Linked DNA regions of Homo sapiens: region 2 is linked to region 1. Evidence: promoter capture Hi-C in 16 types of primary human blood cells and fetal thymus (Javierre and others, 2016). All regions are on one chromosome and are shown on one strand. Each heading gives the region's core, a stretch centred on a gene start or on the middle of the fragment in contact. The rest is flanking DNA. Distances are from core to core; before and after follow the strand shown. Region 1 holds the start of PICALM (phosphatidylinositol binding clathrin assembly protein). Region 2 overlaps LOC105369422 (a long non-coding RNA gene).

Region 1 (7,411 bases), core at 2,581-5,080:
TGGCCAACATGGTGAAACCCCATCTCTACTAAAAATACAAAAATTAGCTGGGTGTGGTGGCATGCGCCTGTAGTCACAGCTACTCAAGAGGCTGAGGCAGAATCTCTTGAACCTGGGAGGCAGAGGTTGCAGTGAGCCAAGATCGCACCACTGCACTCCAGCCTGGCGACAGAGCGAGACTCCGTCTCAAAAAAAAAAAAAATTTGTTTTTTCTATCCTGCAATAATTATGGTTCTTTTAAGCATTCTGTACTGCTAAATGGAATTAGAAGCTACTTTCTATGTATATGAATTGCCCCCACCTCCAGCTGTGAGACAGGATTAAATGAGATGATGAGAAAGTGCCTGGAAAACTGAAGTTCTTCAAATATAAGGGCTGCTATTCCTCTACCTTGATTATGGCTACTAAAGGCCTAAGATTAAACGGAAATCGTGTTTATTTTTACAAACATATTTCAAGTTTGACAACTCTTTCACACTAGGGATGCTAGTCAACACTATTATCCACTAACACCTACAGTATAAGCAAAGCAAAAAAATCTTTCTTCAGTAAGTATATAATGTAGTATGAATTAAGCCATAATTCATGAATTATTAATAATCACTTCCTAATGTGGAAAGATCTTGGCGAGAAACTGACAGAAACCACCTCCACACTCTAAGGGCTTATACGAAAAACAACAGTCCTAAGCATATTTTTTGTTAAATGCTGCCATTTTAAAATGAAATCATTTTCATTAGATTCATATAAATAAGCATCAGTTGCTAGGGGCATTAAAAGGTGCACATAAACTAAGCTTTCACTATAAAGAAAAATTCCTAAAAGACAAAAAATTACTTGAAATGACAGGTTTCTGTATTAAAGCCTAAAGTTCATGATGTCAACACCATGAACTGTCCGTAGAAGACTTTTTAATTTTCTCAAAGCATGTTAGTGTGTGCAAGGAAGGTATTTGTTTAGTAAACCACTCACTGGTCAGACTTTACCTAAGATAAAGGTATTTTATTAGTGAGAACTGATTACAGGACATTTTAATCAACAATGTAGGGAAAATAGTATCCCTGTATTTTAAAACCTCATTGAAAAGAAACAGAAGCACATTAACGACACATATATTTTTAAATCAAATACTACCAGGTATATTCAAGTTCCAAAAACGTGGGAGCTTGTAAACACAGAAGTGGTAGAGAAAAAGAACGACAAATGCAAGATTATCCTCCAAACCTAATCCCAGTTACCATCTATCTGCAGTAGTGGCTATAACAAGAGAAATAGCTAATAACATTTATGAAACAACATGCAAATAGCACTCTTCTAACCCTACCTATTTTCTCCTCTTTTTGACAATGCTTTAAAAGAACCACTGCTACATTTGAAATAAGACACAAACCTTTACAAAAAAAACTTTTAAAAGCCTTATCGATTCTTATTTTGAATGAGGAAAGAGGAAAATAGTTCACACAGTCACAACTAGTTTCTTCATACTCCCATACAAAAAAAAAAAACAAAAAAAAACCAAAAGCAACTAACAAAAGAATTAACACAGTGTCAGGACAAACTGTAAGATTTGGTAGGGCAAACCAAGTAGTATTTGAAGAGCCGTAAATAGCAGAAACGTCTACTACACGTATCAGATAATCAAAAAATCACATATGGCTTTACGATGCATTTTAAAAAGTTTTCTGTTCATAAGAGTGTCACCATTTAAACATATTCTCCATTCTCTAAGACAAGCAAGGACTGAGAGTTTAAAAGCAGCCTGCATGCATATCTGAAAGAATCAAGCACTAATGCTTTTTTATTTAAAACTTTTTTCCACAGTGGAGGAACAATCACAAAGAATAATAGGCTTCTGTGTAGCAAAAACTTGTTCTAACAGCATTCATGAGCACAGTAACTTGGAAGAATCTACATTTCGTACATTTTTTTTAAAGTGCAAACTTTACGGCCAAAGTCCAAATGAGAAATCAAAACAGGCTTCCAGACAGTGAATTATCTTTCAGGGCATGCTCACTCTTGCTTCAAACAGTAAAACAAAGTAACTTTCATGTATGATGAAAGTCAGTCAGACTAATGTGTCCAGTCATTTAAAAAGGGAACTTACTTATCGTGACTATTGCCCTATTTTTCCCTGAAAAGTTTCAGGTCTAAGCTCCATTGGCTTGAGTGATCCAATGAGCTTTGTACCCTGGGGTAAAAGAGCGCAAAGAAAAAGGAGGGTATTACAGGTGACTTCCAGGTTAGAAAAAAGTTACGAGGAGTTAGCTCTACTAATTGTATCTACGTTAGCGAATGGACGAATACTATGTCGTGTAAGAGAAGCTAAAGCTAGTTCCTCAAAAGGTAACTGGCATAATTAAAACATCCAAACTCAAGCATCATCAAACATCATTTTGCCAATTTTTTTAAGGGATGTATGTTATTTGTAAGTAAATTTATTAATCCATTTGGAATTCCAACAGTCTACGCTTAACACTCAAGCTTCTGAATTCAAGCCGCCAGAATTAACAGTTCCAGGAACTGATAAGAGTATCAGCAAAATGCCTTTTTCCATATCCCCATGTGAAAAGCTGGGGGGCAGAGCTGACAGTCACAAACTCACCCCAGTCAAAAGTATGGACAACACAACGATTAAATTCCACCAGAGGCAAATAAAAATCCCAACTTTCCAGAAAGCTTTCCCTACACCAAATTGAATCCTTTTACTTTCACTCCCACAAAGAAGGTAATCTGAAATAAAAGTCGGGTAACTGGGTATGGTATTTAAAATGAGTCGAAGAAACTACACTGAAGCTACTATAGAGGCGATGAAAAGGTAACCCAAAAGCAGGAGGGAAGGTGGAACAGAAAGCCAGGAAGGGATGGGCGAAGCAGCTAGTGGAGCAAAGGAAGTGGGGGATCCCTTCCAGGGAGGCAGCCCGGAGGGATAACAAGGATCTGGATGCAAGGAACCAGGCGTTTACTGAAACCCGAAGGAGGCTGATGAAGAAACAATGGGGCTTGGAGACGCTCAGACGAGGGCGACGAGGCGGCACCGGACGGGTGGGAAGGAAGAGCAGAAGGCTGCAGTGGAGACGGGTAGGGGGTGAGAAGCCAGGTGGGGAAGCAAGTTGGTTGGGTATGATGGGGTGTGGTAGCGCACCGGGCAGGGAGACGAGGGTCCCCTAGGAATAGGGAGGGGAGTGGCTTGTCAGATTTTGAGACGGGGAGCGGAGGCCGTGAAGGCAGGTGTGATGGAAGCAAAAGAACACAGCTCAACGGGCACAGGACCGGCCGTGCCAGAGAAGACGCAGGGAGGGAAGAGGCAGTAGAAGGGTGAAAGACAAGAGAGAGAGAGAAGGACGCGCGCGGGTCGCGCGGGCGCCGGGGAGCGGGGGCCGCGGTCGGCTTCACTCACAGTCCAGGTGCTTTTTCTTGGGCCCCATGATCTCGTGGGTCGTGGCCTTGCATACTGTCTTGGATACGGCAGAGCCGGTGACACTGTGCTGGGCGGCAGTGATTCGGTCCGTCAGGCTCTGGCCGGACATCTCTGCAGCTCCTCCACCACCCCACCCGCTCAGCAGCCGGCGGGGACTGGGACCCCCAAGAGCCGGAGGGTCCCCACCCCCCACCGCACCCCCTACCCCCACCGGCTCCTTCCCCGCCTGCCGGCCTGGGGCGCGGTTCGGGGCCGCGCGCTGCCACCAGTCCAGAGAGAACCGGCTCGTGTCACCCGCGGAGTCGGACAAGATGTCGGGCACTCCCTTGCCCCCGCCTCAGTTCAGCCCACCCCTTCCCGGGTCAGCTGGAGCCGGGCAGGGTAAGAGGAACAGGCAGCTGCAGGAAAATGGCGGCGCCAGGCTCCTCCTCGGAGCTTTCCGGGCTGCCCCGGGTCACGTGACTCGGACACCGCCCCTCCTCCCTTCTCCCGCCCCTTTCCCCTTCCCTTTCCTCTTCGACGCCCGCCCTCCCTCGCTCAGCGAGGGAAGAGCTGGGCGGCGCCCGCGCGTTACGTGATGGAACTCGCCAGGCGGGCGCAACAGGAGGCCCGCCCGAGGGGAGTGCACAGCCGGCGCATCACGTGACTCTCCCTGCCAACAGGTCGCCTGAGGCTCGGCCCGCGGGGTCACAGACGCCGGGCGGGGCGGGGCGGGAGAGGAATGGCGAGGGCGGTGTGCTGGCGGGGGTGGGGCGGGGCGGCAGGCTTCTCCCCTTATCCCCCCACCTCAAGTGTGTCCTCGTGTCTGTGGTTGAAACCAACAGCTTGACAAAGGAGGTGCAGCTGCCTTCACAGCTTCCCCTGAAGTGGGGGGTATTAGGCCTCTGGCTCCCCGAGCTTTCCCAGCAGAGTCAAGAATGTATTTCAAGACGCCTCCCAAAGCCGCCCTCCTGGCTTAAAGGAGAAGGTTCCAAACGGCCTATTTTCTGAACCTTCCAGCAGGCCTCTCTCTACCATGGAACTATTGAAGCTCTCCTTATTTACTTACCCCAGAAAGGTTTTTTCCCCCCTTTCCTTGAGAGGCTTGGAAATGTCACCTGGTTTTGTTTATCTCTACTCCGAAAACCCGACACGTTGCTGCCATTCTAAATTTAGATACTAGCTGGCCGGTATTCATTCTCTAGGGTGTGGAATAGGACAGGAAACACATAGCTTCACTGGAATTTGAAAAGGGAAGTAGTAGGATGATGTCAACAGCGATTAGCTTGACCCTACATGGCTGACTGCTGTGGTGATTAAAGGTCCAGACCATAGAAGGAAGTGAGAGGGGCGGTAAATGGAGAAGTCCCATTCAAACAGTCCAGACATCACTGCCTGCCATCTCCCCTGGTTTAGTCTTTCTTACCTTTGGCCTCTTTTCTCTTATTGGGTGAGCCAGATTTCCATGGAAAGACGTTGACACTGCCCTGTGGACATTTTAAAAGAAGTATTACATCCTGAAATACTATTCAATGAGACCCAGACCATACATTAACAAAGCCTTTTATATGTTATTAGAGCCTCTACATTCAACCCAGGGTTAGGGATAAGTTGAAAAATATGTGAGTGCTAAGTTACCATGATAGTCACATGTAATCTTGCTAGTTTCAAATGAAATGCTAACATTCTCAGAAAGTCTGTGTACACCATCTGCCAGCCAAATCCAAAATACTGTGCTTCAATCTGGTGACTCTCAAAGGATGCAAAGCTGATAGATATTTAACATTTTATGTATCATATCAGGAATTTTGTGGTCTCCCATTTTCCCCACGCCCCCTCACCCCTCTTTTTTCCCCACTATGGCTGGTGAAATTCTGCAGCAACATGCTCTTGCCAAGAACACACAAGTTTTTAATCCCAGCAGGCTTCATCTTTGTCAAGCCAGCCTCCAATTTCACAAAACTATAATGAATTCCTTCAGTGTACTGCAATCCATCTGTGGTTTGGTGCCCAGTTTGCTGCCCCACGTCCACTGGGCAGTGGAATTACCAAATTCTCAAGACATGTTATCAGCCATCATTGCTACTGGTCTATGGGTTCCACTGTATAAGTTACTGATTGGCCTGAGCCTCTGCATTGGTAAACCCCAATCTGAGGTCAACACTAACATGGTCTAGCTATCAACAGCTGAATATTTTATCCTTAGGGAAAATGCCAGTCATTCCTAAGTACATAACAGGAAAGTATTACACTATTACTTTTACCAAAGAGGTTCTTTCAGACCACTTTTGTGACAATAATTGTTGACATGTTTACCCTATTAACAAACAAGCTGCTGTTAGAAATATTTTATTTTTTTCCAAGTATACATAGTAGAATTTCTAACTATGTAAATAATCAGTAATCATTGAAGAGGTTTATGTGTGGTTGTGAACTGAAATATATGGAGAAATTTAAAAGAAGATGGGGAATTGTTCTAAGGGTAGACATTACTGACCTATGTTGTCTTATATGCTTAAGTTTTCTGTGTCAGTTTCCTTGGTCTATTCAGGAAATATCTCTACCTGAAGTTCCACAGATGCCAACTCACCATGGCCAATACTGAACTTCTCTTGCCCTTGCCCAGCATCCTACATCTTTAATCCATACTGTTCCCTATATCCGTTAATGGCCTCACCACATGTCCAGAAGCTCCGCTCAGAAAGCTGTGATTCTGAGTTCTCCTTCTGTCTTATTTCCCTCATCAAGCCTAATCTACTTTTATCTCTCAAACACATCCCATCTCTAACCCCACTTCTGTTGCCTTAGTTCCAGCCTTTATGATCTCTGTTATACTAGACTGTTTTAGTAACTTCTTAGCTGATTCTCTGTCTTTTATACCCTGACTCTCCAATTCAGATCCTTCTGAAACCAAAATGTGATTGTCTTTTCTTTGCATTAAAATCTTCCAGTAACTCCCCCATCGCTACCCTAAAGGATGAAATTAAGAACTCTCAACCTGGCATACATGGTTCTTCATGATCTGGCCTCATTTTAGAAGTTTCTAAGTATGTAAATAATCAGTGACCATTGTAGAGGTTTATGTGTAATTGTGAAATGAAATACATGGACCAATTTAGAAGAAGATGGGGAATTAGAACTAAGAATAGGCATTACTGACCTACTTTATCTTATATACTTAAGTTTTCTCTGTGTCAGTTTCTTCAGTCTATTTAAGAAATATCTTACCTGAAGTTCCACATGTGCCAACTCACATGGCCACCTAAACCTGTTGAGCCTTGTCTCTTCCCATTCCTCTAAATTCCCCTACCTACCTACTACTTGTTGAGCCTCATCTCTTCTGATTCCTTTAAATGCACTCCAGACAGTATCACACTACTTGACATACTTGGATGTCATGCTGTTTCACATACCAATAAGCAGTTACTGATTTCCTTTTGTTACTCATATATCCTTCTGTTCTCTAATTATTATTGTGATTGACTAATTGCACTAACATGGGGGTGCAGAGATACATCCATGCTAGTATTATGGTTGATGCAAGGTAGATACACAGTAGATGGTGATTGAACGAATGAATGAGAACGCTTTGAAATCACGCATTCGGACACACCATCACTCCAAACCTCTCATTTGATAAAATCTGCCCACTTTTTCACACATTTAGCATGTCTACTGGGCATGGAGGCATAAGCCTATAGTCATAGCTACTTGGGAGGCTGAAGCAGGAGGATCCCTTGAGCCCAGGAGTTTAAGCCTGCAGTGAATTATGATCCTACCACCGCATTCCAGCCTGGATGACAGAGCAAGACACTGTTTCTAAAAATAAATAAAGCATGTCCATCCCATAATTATCTGGTTGGAGCATCATCCTTATTCAGTACCTTGTTAATTAATTTACTCTTTCAAAAAATATGTGTTGAACTGTGTGTCAGGCATAAAGGTTCTAAGTGCCAAACACTATTTACAGTGAACCCATCAGTCCTTTGGGAACTAGTTAGTTCTCAACTTGAA
Region 2 (7,411 bases), core at 3,444-5,943, 970 kb after region 1:
AATTAGCTGGGCGTGGTGGCGTGTGCCTGTAGTCCCAGCTACTCAGGAGGCTGGGGCAGGAGAATGGCATGAACCCGGGAGGCAGAGCTTGCAGTGAGCTGAGATTGTGCCAATGCACTCCAGCATGGGCAACAGAGTGAGACTCCATCTCAAAAAAAAAAAAAATATATATATATATATATAATATATATAACATATATATAATATATATTATATATATATTATGTGATGATCAGTTTGCATTAGTTCATTTATAGTAAGCTATACTATTGCACATATATTCATTTAAGAAAAGAGAGTCATACAGTTCACAAAGATGGAAGAGAATCATTGGAGGTTAGCTGGTTGTCTTACAGGTAGCCTGACCCTGCAGTTGATATTTGTGACAGAGATGGCGCAAAATGCTTAACAAAATCTCATTTCATTTTCCTTTCCTGGTTACATGGAAAGACTACGTTTTCCATCCTCCTTTGTGGTTAGGTTGGGGACATGTGACTAAGTTCTGGAAGTGGGATGTAAGCAGAAGTGATGTAAACCACTTCCAGGTCTGGCCCTTAAAAGTGAAAGCAGTGATTGGTATCTGCGAAAGTTAAATGTATGCTGGCCCCATGACGTAGCACATCTACTCTTAGGTATATGCTCAAGAAAAACAAAAGCATACGTCTACAAAAGTCAAGTAAAAGAATGTCCCTTGCTGGGTAATTCATAGTAGGTTCAAACATGCAACAACACAAATGTCCTCAAATGAAAAAATTGTGCTATATTCATACAATAGACCCAATATAGCAATAAAAATGAATGAACTATAGCTACATACGACAACATGCATAAGATCTTGAGTGAAGGAAGCCAGACACAAAAAATATTCAACGTATGCATTTGTTACTATAAGCTTTAGGAACAGGCAAAATGAAGCTATGATGCTAGAAGTGAGAATAGTGGTTACCTCTGTTTGCAGGTGTATTTACTGGGAAGGGGCACTAAAGAGCCTTCTGGGGTGATGGAAATACTTTTTTTTAATCTGCATAGCAGTCTCAGGGCAAATAGTAGTCTCAGTAAAGGCAAATTTAAAAATTCATCAAGCTGTACACTTAAATTTTGTGCATGCTGCTATGCAAAAGAACTAAAAATTATGCACACATGAAAAATCAAAGAAGCAAGGAAAAAATTAAAAAAAGTGACCACTGACGAAGGCCCAGTGCAGATGGAAGAGGCTATATTCCTGAATCACTGGTTGCCCTTGCCCTGAAGAACTGGCCAGTCTGCTTTGGAGTTTGTGTAAACACAAAATAAATCTTTCTTATTTTAAATTCTCTGAGATTTAGAGTGTATGTGGTATCTCGGCATAGCCTAACCATTCTTGGCTAATACAGAATTTATTGCCACAAACAACCAGGGTAAAAAACCTGGCTTTGGAAGCATATCAGGGAGGCTCTTCCTTTCTCAGGCTAAGTGATATAAAACAAGCTTATAAATGAGTGCATAAATCAAGCTGCCAATTTATTAAATAACAATAGAAAATTAAAACCTGTCATACAAACTAGGATATCTGTTACCTAATATATAACCATTCTGTCTCTCAAGACAGACCTGCATGGGAAGCCAAACTGTAATAAAAGTTTGTTTTATTCTCAGAAAGAAAACATTAGTTAGATGAGTCAGTTATTTAATGACATCTGTCCAGGAGAAGCTATGCATCCCATTTCATAGTTAATTCCTGAGGTCCCTGGGCTGCAGTTCTCATTCCCAGGCATGCACCTGAATTGCCTCAGGGGGCTCCTCGTTTTTTTTTCTTCCAATTCTATCAATACACTTGTCTTCTACAGATATGTTATTGCATAAGTCTACTGTTTTTAGAGAGATGTGGCTGGCCTCTAAAGCATTCCTTGTACACATCTACATGTTGATTTTGTGTTTTTCCTCTCAAAGAATAATCATAAATCTTTTACTTTTTTATTATTTATTTATTTATTTATTTATTTATTTGAGATGGAGTCTTGCTCTGTTGTCCAGGCTGGAGTGCAGTGGCACCATCTCGGCTCACTGCAAGCTCCGCTTCCTGGGTTCACGCCATTCTCCTGCCTCAGCCTCCCAAGTAGCTGGGACTACAGGCGCCTGCCACCATGCCCGGCTAATTTGTTTTGTATTTTTAGTAGAGACAGGGTTTCACTGTGTTAGCCAGGATGGTCTCGATCTCCCGACCTCGTGATCCTCCCACCTCAGCCTCCAAAAGTATCTTTTACTTTTACATTCTGTGGTTGGAGTGGTAGGGGTTTGGAGAGAATGGTGTCCTTAGCTGTAGCTTCCAAGTACTGGTAACATCAAACTAATATAGATGCTGAGAATTCTAGACAGTGTATGTACCTGAATATTTTGTAAGGCCACTTGAGAGTTTTTTCTACAATCTTTGAAGGCTTGAAGGGAGGAAACTGTTAGGAAAGGCTGGAGAAAAAGGGATCCCTGTTATGCAGTGGCAGAAAGTTTGGCAACACTGTTGCATGCTGAAATGCAGAAAATAGAAAATATATCTAACAAACTGGTGTATTTGCAGTTAAGGAAATTTCCAGACAGACTGTTGAAAATGCCAACTGATTAAAAAAAAAAAACCTATGTGGAATAAGATGTAGAGAGGTGAGATATAAAAGGAACAATTTCATTTTTAAGCAAAATTTAGAGAAAATATACACAGTCTGGGAACTTTGGGTTCAAAAATAAAACTGCTTTTCACTTCCAGCCTCTCCAGATGGTGAAACAACTAAGGCATTGCCTTAAGGGGAAGGTACAATCCAGGGTGCAGCTATTTAGATTTTTTGTAAAGACTGTACAAAGATTTAAAGCCATTTTACCTAGACCATTTCAGCTAGACAAAAGCACTTCTAAGTGTATAAGGGTGTTTTCCATCAGCTTTCTTACTCTCAGCCCAAGACGGAAAGTGTTTGTCTCAGAGGTTTGTGAGTGTGGCTTTTTTTTCTATTGGAGTGGATTATAATTTGATATATATGAAGTCCCCAAAATCTTAAAGAGAATTGTATTGGCAGACACACTGCCTACTTGGACTGAAAGGGCATATGTATCTTTTAATACTCCAGATTTGAATATTAAAATTTATATTTACATATTAGAAACTCAATATTTTAAATAAAATGACGTAAGGAAAAACCTGAAGTTATGTTGCAACAAAAATTAGTAGAAAATTAGAATTATGGCTGGGCATGGTGGCTCATGTCTGTAATCCCAGCACTTTGGGAGGCTGAGGCAGGTGAATTACCTAAGGTCAGGGAGTTTGGGACCAGCCTGGACTACATGGTGAAACCCCGTCTCTACTAAAAATACAGAAATTAGCCGGGTGTGGTGGTGGGTGCCACTAATCTCAGCTAGTGAGGCAGAAGAATCACTTGAGCCCAGGAGGCGGAGTTTGCAGTGAGCCGAGATCGTCCCATTGCACTCCAGCTTGGGTGACACAGCAAGACTCCGTCTCAAAAGAAAAGAAAAGAAAAGAAAATCAGAATCATATGTAGCTTTGTGAAAAGCTTGGTTACTGACTGTTGCTGGAATCAAGAGCTACTACAGTGTCATACTTCGAGTTTGCCGTACTTTGCCATTGTACTTGTGCCTGATAATTATTTCTACAATGACTGCATGTAGATCTAAACTAGATTAGTGTCGTTAAATCCTCTGCATTAGATCTTAAGAGCTCTTCCATTCTTTTTCGTTGACATCTTCAAAACTAGAATCCTACAAGAGCAACAACTTTGTGTTTTTTTTTTTTTTTTCATTCTTCCATCACAAAGAAAGGGGCAACAATTTTCATCTTGGCGTTTCTTCAAAGCCTTTGAATTCCATCATAAATTGCCAGATTAGTTTTCTTCATCCACTGTGCACCTTCTTTGGAGAAACTCTTTGCTTCACCTTGTTGATGAACCCTAAAGCCCTCCCTGCGTTTTTTTAATGAAAAAGAAGAAACAATGAAGCCCCCAGAAAGTATCCAATCAAGCCACTGTCATAGCCAACCTAAAAGAATAAATGACCCATGCAGATGCAATGTTTAACATTATCTTTAAACTTAATGGTGGCATGAAGAGAAGGCTTTCTTTTAAAAAACAGCCTGCTATATCTTATAATACCATATAAAGAAATTTACAAATGTAAGCTACTGGTTTAACTGCATACTGCTCCATTTTGCAATTTTTTTTGCATCCTAAAGCACAGATCATCTCCCCTGAGGATTTATCAATGCCTTCCTGTTTTGGAATCTCCATAGCAGCACTAGAAAAGATAGAGTATCCTTTCTTTTGAACTTGGGAGTTTCCCTGAAATCACCCCTTTGCCACCCAGCTCATCAGCATTGTCCCCTTTGGCACCATCCCCTTTTTCTCAAATTTCTTTATGCTTCAAGTCTCCATTTAACAGTTAATTAGGACCAGGTGTGTTGGTGCACACCTGTAATCCCAGCAGTTTGGGAGGCTGAGGTGGGTGGACAGCTTGAGCCCAGGAGTTCAAGAGCAGTCTGGGTAACACAGGGAGACCCTACAAATAATTTAAAAACATTAGCCAGGTGTGGTGGCGTACCTGTGGTCCCAGCTACTCAGGAGGCTGAGGCAGGAGGATCTCCTGAGCCCAGGGGATATAGGCTGCTGTGAGCTGTGATTGCGCCACTGCACTTCAGCCTGGGTAGCAGAGTGAGACCATGTCTCAAAACAAACAAAAAACAGTTAACTAAAAGAAACCACCTGGTTTTAATTGTAATTTTAAAATTTCCTTATTTATTAATGTGTAATTGCTGGGCCACATAGTAAACATATTGTTTATTATCAGGCATGAAAACTATATTGTGCTATTACATTCAGAAGCAACTGAGAGTTAACAATCATATTAAAAATTTTTTTTTTTTTGAGACGGAGTCTTGTTCTGTTGCCCAGGCTGGAGTGTAGTGGCACCATCTCGGCTCACTGCAACCTCCGCCTCCCAGGTTCAAGTGATTCTCCTGCCTCAGCCTCCTGAGTAGCTGGGATTACAGGTGTCCACCACCATGTCTGGCTACTTTTTGTATTTTTAGTAGAGATGGAGTTTCACCATAGGCCAGGCTGGTCTTGAACTTATGACCTCAGGTGATCCACCAAGCTCAGCCTCCCAAAGTGTTGGGATTATAGGTATCAGCCACCGTGCCCAGCTCGTATTAATTGTTTGGTGAATAAGATGTTATTTGTATAGTATTGTACATCTTAACATGATCATTTTTTGTTAATATTTGATACTATGTTTTAAATACTTGTTAAGAATTTTTTGGTTGATATGTAATGCATTTTATTTTTTCCCATTTAAAACTAAGTTCCTATTCAGCATTTTCTTGTGAAAGGATCACAGATATTCAGGAATGGATTATTGAAAAAAAATAAGCCTGCACTGCTATTTCTGTAATTTTTTGGATAAGTTTATGCTGTGTTTTTGATCTTCTTAGTTTCTGAATTGGAGATTTGAAAAAAATTGTGATTATCTTGTTCCTATTCTACCATTGTATATTGGATGTGTTGAGGCGGATGATAACTTTATCATGAGATCTGCATCTGGTCCTGAGGAATATTCTGGACTTTGGCTAGGATTCAGCAACTGCATGGAATTTTAGGTTGTCTCCCTTGGAAAAGGGAAGGTATGTCTATCTGTAGAAAGAATGGTGTGCCCGGATATTTGGGTAGCCAGAGACATAGAACTATGGCAGACACTGCTAGTTGCCTCTAATATCTGTTTTTTCCATTTTGCTCAGTAATAAAACCTCAAATGTTAGCTGGGCATTTGTCCCATTAATTAAAAAAGATTGTATTCACCATCCTCTCTTGCAATGAAGTGTGGCCATGTGATTAAGCTTTGTCCAAGGAACGTAAGTTGTAGTAGTTTGTATGGATCTTCTGGGAAGTTTTTTTAAAAACAGGAAGTATGCCCTTTTCTCCCCGCCCCCGCCCCCCCGTTTTTTTTTTTTTTTTTTTTTTGAGATAGAGTCTCTCTCTGTTGCCAAGGCAACAGTGGTGTGATCTTGGCCCACTGCAACCTCTGCCTCCTGAGTTCAAGCGATTCTCCTGCCTCAGTCCCTGAGTAGCTACGATTACAGGAGCGTGTCACCATTTCTGGCAAATTTTTGTATTTTTAGTAGAGACAGGGTTTCACCATGTTGGCCAGGCTGGTCTCAAACTCCTGACCTCAAGTGATCCACCCGCCTCAGCCTCTCAAAGTACTAGGATTACAGGTGTGAGCCACCGCGCCCGGCCTCTCTTCCCCTTTTGCTGGTCTTCCTGGCTAGCATGTTGATGTCATGTTATTTTCTAAGTTAGGGTGGAAATCACAGGTAGCAGATGGCATAGCAAACTGTCACAAAGAGGCTGGGATCCCTAATCGTTATGGAGCCACCATTTTATTCTAGGACTGCCTACCTTTACCTGAGAGAAAGATACTTTTATCTTTTTGCCATTGTTGTTTTGGACTTTTCATCTGAGTATTTCTCTTTTATTTTCTTCAAACAACTACACCTATCTGATATTATCTTGTTCAGTTTTCTTTGTTATTTTCTGTCTTCTCCCTCTAGAATACTAGCTTCGTGAAAATAAAAATCTTGTCTCTCTTGTTTCTGTTTGTTTCCTTAGCACAGTGCCTGGTAAATAGTAATGACTCAGTAAATATTTGTAGATGAATGAATGAAGACTAGAAGATTCGAATGGAATTCTTCTAAAGGTAGTTCGTTTCTGCTTTAAGAGACTATGGAATTTAGAAATCCAAAGAAACTGGCAGGTTTGTTACATGTGAGGAGATTGACAGAGGGGTTATATGACTCAAGCAACACAGGACCCTTGTCTTGCTAATTGTTGGCCAAGTTCCCTAGCCAGGTCTGAGTTCTAACACACGACTGCCGCCTCTACTGTGTGTGCTGTTTGGTTGATAAGCACCTATCAAAGATGCTGTAGACAGGATTGCTCCGTGGCCTAAGGTTTGGACAGGATGACCTATTGCCCTTCCCCACACACGGTCGGGGTATGAACATAGCTGAGACTTTTCAAGCCTTCGCAGGTATCACAGAGCTTGGAAAGCCCAGCACTTGGGGGTAGTTAGTTGCAACTAGCAGGCAGCCCTAGCTGTTTATTACCTGGGACTCTCGGGAAGGCAAGCTCCCGGTGCTGGGGAGGACGTTTGTCCCAGGCATTCCTCTGGCAACCCTCTTCCTCCACCAGCTCCCAACAAAGACATTTAATCCCTTTCTTCCACTACCCTCCGCTCTACTTGGCTTGCAGTTGGAAGCTGAAGTACAATTTGACCCAAGCCACCCCCTACTGCGCACCTGCCATAGCGCTTGCGCCCCGGAGCCGGGCACGGCGTCGCGGGGGTGGGGAGGCGGCTCGTCCCCGAGCTGCGCTCCCTCGCGTACAGC

What was found. The method cuts DNA at HindIII sites, captures the fragments that hold promoters and counts their contacts. A CHiCAGO score of 5 or more calls a contact.
Region 2: a fragment that was not itself captured here is called in contact with the fragment with the promoter of PICALM in region 1 in 1 of 17 cell types (non-activated CD4 T cells); the score reaches 5.6 in non-activated CD4 T cells.

The regions. Positions count from the first base shown.
Region 1 is chr11:86,065,254-86,072,664 of GRCh38, forward strand. PICALM (phosphatidylinositol binding clathrin assembly protein) reads right to left here and starts at 3,831. Exons shown (of 20, transcript NM_007166.4): 1 at 3,398-3,831. The coding sequence starts at 3,527. It overlaps LOC124902731 (a long non-coding RNA gene), which reads left to right and starts at 4,671. Exons shown (of 2, transcript XR_007062823.1): 1 at 4,671-6,444; 2 at 7,065-7,248. RefSeq lists enhancers at 2,477-3,179, 3,180-3,881, 3,621-4,820 and silencers at 3,446-3,495, 3,566-3,615, 3,756-3,925, 4,076-4,345. The HindIII fragment of the contact is 7,123 bases long and covers 2,675-7,411 here.
Region 2 is chr11:87,030,303-87,037,713 of GRCh38, forward strand. It overlaps LOC105369422 (a long non-coding RNA gene), which reads right to left. Exons shown (of 5, transcript XR_007062827.1): 1 at 7,322-7,411. Among named protein-coding and RNA genes, the nearest start is that of TMEM135, 3.9 kb to the right of the region's middle. RefSeq lists an enhancer at 7,107-7,411 and a silencer at 7,264-7,411. The HindIII fragment of the contact is 2,330 bases long and covers 3,529-5,858 here.